Regions from separate parts of the Homo sapiens genome. Here region 1 is linked to region 2. Evidence: promoter capture Hi-C in human tissues and cell types (Jung and others, 2019). All regions are on one chromosome and are shown on one strand. Each heading gives the region's core, a stretch centred on a gene start or on the middle of the fragment in contact. The rest is flanking DNA. Distances are from core to core; before and after follow the strand shown.

Region 1 (4,273 bases), core at 1,332-3,831, 42 kb before region 2:
CAAATAATTTATGACCCTACCGCCAAACTCTGCTTCCCATTCTAAGCACTTACGCCTGTGCTGTGTAGCCACAGCTCATGGCCAGCAGGGTGTGGTGGACTGCGGAGGGCCAGAGGAGTGGGCCACACACCTGGGCTGGGGCCCAACTTGGCCACTTATAGCCATGGGATTTGGGACAAGCTAATGTCTCTGAGCGTCAATTTTCCCGCCTGTACAATGGGAATCATGATGCCTTCCCGCTGAGAATGCCATAAAGATGAAGTGAGCTCAAGTGCAATGAAAGGACTTTATAAACCAACAAGAGGTTCTGCCATTCAGAGAGAAGCTGTCATAGTGCTCTTTCTTGGAAGAAGCCCAGTGATGCGCCCAGGGCATCCAATGTGCCCCATGGACTCCCCAGTGGGAGGAGGCTCATCTCTCTGGAATGGAGCTTGCAGTATCAGCCATGCCACAAGTGGGAAGAGGGAGAAACAGGTCTGGTCTTCGGCATTACTAATCTTGCTGCTCTTCTGTTCCTGTCAGCAAGCAACCTACAGGATTCTTGGGAGGTGAGCTGTGTGGGTGCTTGTGGCTTAACCTACATCCCATCACCCAGGCACCCATATGCACCAGTTTACCTGGTTTCCACGTGTTGTCCCTATGTATTTATAAACAAAACTCCCTTTTACTCTCAGAAGTGTCCCAGGTTGGATAACTCACACGGTACTCCCTGATTTAGGACATTTTCCTGGAGCCACAACCAAGGAAATGGAATCCCTTACCAATCCCACTCCCCACGTGTAAACGATAAGACACCACACCTGGGCGCCCCTTGGAGACCTGAGAGTCAACTTGCTTGCTTTATAGTTGAATAAACTAAGGCAGAAAGAGGGCTCAGGTGCTGTTCCCGAGTTCACTCTGATGGGGATCTCCAAAAATCAAGTCTCCCAAGTTCTAGGCCGGTGGTGTTTTTCTCCTGTTTCCTGTCCAGTGAGAGATGCAAGGAAGAGGGTCGGGAGCCACACCTAACACTGTGATGCTGATGGAGGCACCAGGAACCCTAGACCCTGCCTTGAGCCAGTCGTTGCCCTATTAGGTTATCAATAAATGAGGGTGTAGGCTGGCTTGCTAAAGCCTCCTTGTGTCAGGCTGGAGTGCAGTAGCACGATCTCAGCTCACTGCAACCTCCGCCTTCTGGGTTCAAGCGATTCTCCTGCCTCAGCCTCCCGAGTAGCTGGGATTACAAGTGCCTGCCACCACGTCTGGCTGATTTTTGTATTTTTAGTAGAGACAGGGTTTCACCATGCTGGCCATGCTGGTCTCGAACTCCTGACCTCAAGTGATCCACCTGCCTTAGCCTCCAAAAGGGCTGGGAAGGGATGAGCCACTGCACCCAGCCAAAAGCCTCTTTGTGTTCTGATTCACTATTCCCCCTTGCTGGGGACTGGCTGGCAGTTTCCTCCTGGGGACATGACTTGAGGGCAGGCGTGGAGGGTCACAGCACAGGAGATGGGCCAAGGGTTATTCCTCCAAGCAGAGCCCAGGGACACATCTCTCTCAGCTAGGTGCCTCACCAGCAGGACATTCAGGTGCAGTGATGGGCACAGACCAGCGAGTGTGCAGTGGAGGATGTGGGAAAGGCTCCAGCAATGAATGCCGAGGCCGAGGCCTGTCCTGAACCCTGGAGGGAGGCCAGCGTGGTCTGTTTCATCTGGTGCTCCTGACAAAACCCTTCCCAGGGCAAGGACTCTCTGAGTCCCCCCAGAGCCTGGCAAGGGAGGTGGTCTTGGCCCTACCCTGACAACAAAAATTATCTTGGAGAACCTCTGCCATTCCCTGGTGTGCTGAGAAATTCTGAACTGGAACGTCTTGTCCATCCAACATAGGCACGTCCCAGTTCCCCCGTGGAGCCACCTTCATATTCAGTTCCACAAGGGAGCGTGCACGGTGTGCGGGGCACCTTGCCAGGCTTTGAAATGAGCAGGACCCAGCCCCTGACTCTCAGGAGTCCTGTTCTAATAGAAGGGTCGAGGCAAACGCATTCTCCAGAGAAGGACAACGCCAGGCAGGGGAGAAAAAAAAATGCCAGCGAGACACTTTTAAAAGAGGGAAAGTCTGCATGTGCAAAACCATTCTTTGAAATGATGCATTTGGTTATGTGCATATTTGTTATGCATTTGGTTATGTGCATATTTGTTAATCTAGCTCCGTGATTTTTAAGTGTCTTAAACCACAGATTTTTTTTCCAAATAAAATCTTTCCTGAAACCCCCAGTGTGTTATAACAAGACAATGAAGCTGGGAGAAAGGTAAATGCAGAGTTCCTGGGGTGAAAGGAGAAGTTGGATGCCATCACCTGGACAGCCCCTAGACTCAGACTGACAGCCACCAGTCTGTATAATGATGAATCATGCAGCTGCTAAATTACTACCATAAGGATTATGGATCAGCAGGAAAAAAACATTGTACAGTGATGAAAAACCAAGAACAAAAGGCCAGGTGCACCATGGCTCCTACTGAGGAATAACAGGTGTGAGTAGTAGGCTTTGTGGCTGGTTTTCTTTTTTTTTCTGAGATGTGGTCTCGCTATTTTGCCCAGGCTGGTCTTGAACTCCTGGGCTCAAGCCATCCTCCCACCTCAGCCTCCCAAAGTACTGGGATTACAGGCGTGAGCCACCATGCCTGGCCTGCTTGGTGGTTGATTTTCACATTAAAAAATTGTATGTCACTGTTAATTGTGTCTCACAGGGAGGAGGGAGTGAGTACCTGTTCCCTGTTAGGGGGAGTGCTGGAGGCTGGAACCAGCATTTCAGATAAAGGGAGGCATCCAGCAGAGATCTGGGAACTGTCACGTCCTGAGGGCTAAATAGAGGCATAGAAGATGAGGAGGGAAATTGGGAGGAAAGAAACTGGGAGGGAACCAGAGCATAGAAGGGCACCCCATCACTCAGCGTCTTTTTGTGATTTCCAGGCAGCAGAGAGCTGTGTTTCTGAGCAGAGGAGTCACTCGTGGAGCTGCCTTTGTTCCTTGTTAGAAAGAGGTTCAAGGGTGGCCCCCAAGTGTGGTCCCTTGGCAAAGGAGCTCTCCCAGTTCCCCTCCCCCCAGGGCAGATTTGATTCTGTCTCTCTCATCCAGGAGCCACGGCCTGGGATGCCCTTGCCAGGGTCATTGCCAAGCCCAGTTTTCCCAGACTGGGCTCGCAGGCCCTGGAGGCCCTGGGAAGCCGCCTAGCAAAGGCTGGTTCAGGGGTGGCCATAAGAGGGCGGAAGAGGGCTGGGAACGGGCGGCCGCAGCTTACGCCTCCATCCCACTCCCTCTTCTTATCCAACCTTGTGTTTCAGATCAGGAAATTGAGAGCCAAACAACCCAAGGTCACATGGCAGATTTACAGAGAGCAGGGATTGGAGCTCAGCCTCCACACTCCGGGTCCGGGACTGCCGCCGTGCTCATCACCCTGCCTCCTTTTCCCTAACACCCTCCCATCTGCACACTCTGAGATGCTCCCTGAAAGCTGAGCTCCCCTCCCGACCATGTGAGAGACCCCACAGGCATGCGCTTGCTCACAATCCATTGCCAATGCCTGCTCCCAAGACTGCAGCTGCCAGTGAGATACGACTTGTGATTTAACGAGCTCAGTCCTTCCCGAGGCTTGATGGGTACTGTCTCACCACTCCCAGGATCTCTTGGCAGCAAAAACCCCTTTCCACACAGGGGCCCTGCTTTAAGCTGCATCCCCACAGACTGTCTTTTCGGGTGCCTCACCCTCACCTCCTGCTTAGACACGGCCACTCCCCAGCAAGGACTGTCAGAGCTGGGGGCCTCTGAGTAGCTCACCTACAGGTTTTCCAACTGAGCCTAGAGGAGATGCCGGGGCGCTGCAGGGAGGGTGAGGTGAGGTATCTGCAGGAGTTGGGGCAAAGAATGACCTTTGCTTCTGCTAGAGAAGCTTAGCTATCCATCTGTTTCATGTTACAGAGTTCCATGTATGCTTTCATTTGAACAAAGGATTCTCACTGTAAAAACATCTCCAAGCCCCTGAAATGAGCTCAAGCCCCCAGCAGGGCCTGCCTCCCCCTGCGCCGCCGGTCTTAACAGTCTATCAGCGAGACAGACCCATCCTCTCTCCCTTGTTGTCACCTTGTGGATATTTATAGCATTACCGTGTCCACCAGAGAGCGTAATGGGCTTTTTAGGCTAAACCAATTAAACTCTCCTCCCGTAAGTCATGTCTCCTGGATGGCTTCTCTGCCCTGCTCTGAGCTTGTTCTATCTTCATTATCTCGGCTCTTCATGG
Region 2 (3,922 bases), core at 1,047-3,546:
CACCGGTTTTTCGACCCCAGCCAGCCATGATGATGATAATGGTGATGATGCCTTGTCCTGCTGGTTGATTGTGGCTCTGTCTCCCCCACCACTCTGCAAATTCCTTGAGGACAAGATAGGAAGCACCTCTGGCTTGTCTGTATCACCTTGGGGACCAGAAACTGGCACGCACCGCTAGGTCCATTTATTCAATCCGTGAGCACTTCTGGAGCACTTGCTATGTGTCAAGCTCTGTGACAGGATCTGGGTTTAGAGATAAATAAGAAGCTCGGGGGTGGGTGGGGGTGTCCAGAGTTAAGGCAGACACAGACCATTATATAAAGAGTATGGAGAGGGTCACAGGCGCTGGGCTGAGGCCGGGTGAACATAGCCAGGCAGGAGGGAAGAAGAGGGCTTTCTCAATCAAATGAAAGCTGATTGAGATGAATCCAGTGGTCCCATCTGACCCCTACAGCAATCACATTTAAGGATGAGGAGATGACAACTCAGCCGAGAAAATCCCACTGTTAGTACGCCATGGGCTGGGGCTGGGACCAGAGCCCCTCACTTCTCAGGGTTGGGGGCTCACAGCGCATGCCTTAGAGATCCCCACTTCCACTGCTTCCCAGCCTTGGCCTCTGCCCAGAGTTGTGCAAATTAAAGGACTTCCGGGCAACATCCATTCATTCCCTGGTCTCTATCCTCCGCCCGCCCCTGCGCTCCAGGGTATTTTTAGTTCTGGGCAGCCAGGCCTGGTGAGTGATTGGCAGCAGGCAGAGCCCACGTTTCCGAACCCTCTGTGTTGCTTCTGGCTCAGCATGAGAGGTGGCTGGGCCCTAGGAGAGGGCTTAGGCATACCTGGCACCCAAGCCCACAGCTGCCTCATTGTCCCTGGGGGAGGAGCTGGGCTGCTGCCACTGACCCGAGGCTGGGAGCATTCTTTCCTGCTGATTCATCATGGGGAATGTTTTGGGCCCAGCTGGGGTGGGGCAGGGGCACTGGGGGGACATCTTGGACACGGGCAGCCAGGAGTGGATGGCAGGTCCCTGGCAGCAGGGTCATTAAGACCTGGCTGTCACCCAGGATCGAAAAGGTCCATCTTGACATCCTAGCTCTATCACACTCTGCCTGTCCAGGCTTATTCTTACTTGCACATCTGCCTCCCCCACCAGACTGGGAAGGCCCCCTCCAGCGTCTAGCACTCCAGCACCCTGTCTAGCATGTAGGAGAAAATCAATAAAGGCTTGTGGGATGAATGAACCTTTGGAAGGACGTTTAGGCAAGGTGGGGGCAAGAGGGGGAACCAGGTTGGGCAGCTGTGGGCCTAGGGAGGAAACCGGGAGGCTGGAACCCTCTGCCCATTTTACAGATGGGGCCAGTGAGGCTAAGGGCAGGACCAGGTCTAGGGGAAAGAAACTGGGGGCTTGGACTGGGGTTCAGGCACCTAGGTGCTCAGTTCAGCTGATGGGACTCCTCTCTGTCAGCCATGTCCACATTTCTTTAATTCTACAGTCCCTGCTCCCTGCACTAACACCCTCCTCCCGTGAGTCTGACAAGGGCCAGGACTGCATCATTCAGCTCTGTGAAGGGGTTCTCCCATTCACTGTGTATTGCCTGGAGGAGCAAGTTATGTCGCCTGGGGCTCAGTGTTCCCAGCTGCACAATGGGCAGCGCAGAGTTTCACACGGAGGGCGGGGGGGGGGGGGGGGGCGGTATTCAGTAAACTCTGGGTGACTCGCCTGTTCCTGCAGGAGAGCACCGCTGCACCGCGCCACCTCGACCTCTCTGAACTGAGCCCCGGCCTCCCAGAAAGGGCGTCTACATTGTCCTAAGTGACCGAGCTCGTGAGATTCGGCCCCTGTGACAGCCGGGCGCTCCCGTGCGAAGGGTGCTGTGCCGGGGGCCCTGGCACCCACCAGGACTCACAGACTGGGACTCTAGGTGGGCGTCATTACCTTGTTCTGCAAAAGAGGAAACTGCCTGGGAGAGGGACTCCCGAGGCCGCCGCGGCCCTCCCTGCAAAACAGCCGCGGGCCCAGCGCCGCCCTTTCCCGAGAGCTCCGCTCCCCGCGACCCCCCGCCGCCCCCCCGCTCCCCCCGCCCCCCGGGACTTCCCGGCCCCGCCGGCTGCGGCTGGGCGCCCCCGCCACCTGGCCTGTGTCCCGACGGGGGGCGCCGCGCGGAAGGCCGGGCGGGGCGCCCGCGGACTCCAGGCCCGCCCGGGGCGGGGCCTGCGGGGCCTCCTCCGCGGCCAGCTCGGGGCTGGGGGGCCGCGGGCGGGAGGCGGATAAAAAGGCCCCAGGGCGCCCGGGGAGGGAGCCCGTTAGCGCTGCTCCGCCGCGGCGCCCGCCCAGCCCCGGACTGTCCGCGCTCCATCTGGTGAGCCCCCGCCTGGCCGCGCGTCTGCCTCTTGGTCTGCCTCTTGCTGTCCCATCTGTCCTTCTGTCTCTCTGTGAGTCTGCAGGCCTCTGAGGGTTCCTGGAGACTGGGCCTAGGGTGCATGGGGGATCCCTTGGACCCTCAGCCCGGCCCTCCAGTCGCTCACCAACCTGCTTCCAACTGGACAAGTGACCACGCTGGGGAGCTTGGCCCAAGGCCCGCCCTGAGTGGTGCGCCCAGGCCTCAGGGGTGCCTGCGTGTCTTGTTTGTGTACACGCCGTGTGTAACCATTGCTCTGCCTTCTTCCAGGGAGGAGACAGGGAAGGGGCAAGGCGGGTTCAGATGTCACACTTACGACTTGGGGGACAACGAACCAGGGCTGATCTGGGCTCTCCAACTATCCAGACCGGAGCTGATTATGTTGGGGGGTCGGCGTGTGACAGAAACACCGAAGGGAAGGGGGCAGAAGACTTCAAGCCCCCTCTTTCCTAGCCTGGACAGGTACAGCTCAGAGACCATTTGTTGGCACTGCTTCAGGTCCACAGAGTCAGTAACCCCGGGGAGGCTACAGGGCTGAGAGGAGGCTGCTGAGAAGAGCTGCCCAACGGCAGAGAAGGGATGAGCCATCCTAAAGTTGCTGCACCCTCAGGACAGCACCCCCCATGCTCTCTCTTGAATACTCGGGCATTTGCTGTCTTCAGCCCTCCCTACCTGCGCTAGGTCAGGCCAGGTCCCAGCATCTCCTGGCACACCTGGAGCAGGTGCCTCTGTGCCTCAAGCTGGCAAGATCTTGGATCTGTCACTCGGCATTCAGCGAAGAGCACCCTGCCCAGTGCCCTCACACCACGGCCTGGGTCATAAATCCACCAGAACAGGGTGGAATTTCAGTCGGCTCCCGGCCTTCCTTTCCTCCTCCCCCTCTTCCAACATCCATTCTTGGTGGTTTTGAGAGTCCGGCGTCTAGCCAGGCTGCTTGGGTTTGAATCCTGGCTGGGCAAGTTACTTGACTTCCCTGGACCTTACCTTCTCATCTGTAAAATGGAGATAAGTATTTAATCCGTATTTTAAAATGTATAGTTATTATCCTCACTTCCCTCCCCTCCTCTTTCCCTTCCACCTTCCTTCCCTCTTCTGTCCCCTTCTCCTTTATTTGGGAAAGTAACGGCCACTTTCGAGGCCGCTTCCTTCTCTGAGGGAGGATGCACAGCTTGGTCCTCTGTGCTCAGTGCTAGGGGAACAGACAGGTGGAGTCTGGTTGTGGGGTCAGGAAGCAAACACACAATGTGCTTTGTGGAAGGCTTTGTGGGAGGGCTTAATGGAGGGGGTGGCATTTGAGCTGGCCTTGTGGGATGTGTAGGAGTTTAACAGTCTTAGATAGAGGGAAAGGAACAGTGAGAGCAAAGGCTTGGAGGCTGGGAGACGAAGGCTATAGTCTGGTGTGAGCAAAAGCTCTCGGGGGCCTATAGTGGGCAGGAAGGCCAATAAGAGGGACTCTCCCTGCATCTAACTCTTGGTTCCCGCTGCCGTCCCCCCACCTTCCAGCAGCGTTCATGGAAGGGAGCTT

Evidence for each region. Contacts are between HindIII fragments. The study calls those that stand out against the background at their distance.
Region 1: a fragment that was not itself captured here is called in contact with the fragment with the promoter of LOXL4 in region 2 in 9 of the 25 tissues and cell types used here (H1 embryonic stem cells, adrenal gland, aorta and 6 more).

Annotation. Positions count from the first base shown.
Region 1 is chr10:98,308,717-98,312,989 of GRCh38, reverse strand. No RefSeq gene overlaps it. Among named protein-coding and RNA genes, the nearest start is that of LOXL4, 43 kb to the right of the region's middle. The HindIII fragment of the contact is 9,107 bases long and covers 1-4,273 here.
Region 2 is chr10:98,266,568-98,270,489 of GRCh38, reverse strand. It overlaps LOXL4 (lysyl oxidase like 4), which reads left to right and starts at 2,296. Exons shown (of 15, transcript NM_032211.7): 1 at 2,296-2,358. It overlaps LOC124902489 (a long non-coding RNA gene), which reads right to left and starts at 2,048. Exons shown (of 2, transcript XR_007062260.1): 1 at 1-2,048. RefSeq lists enhancers at 2,349-2,848, 2,849-3,350. The HindIII fragment of the contact is 18,964 bases long and covers 1-3,922 here.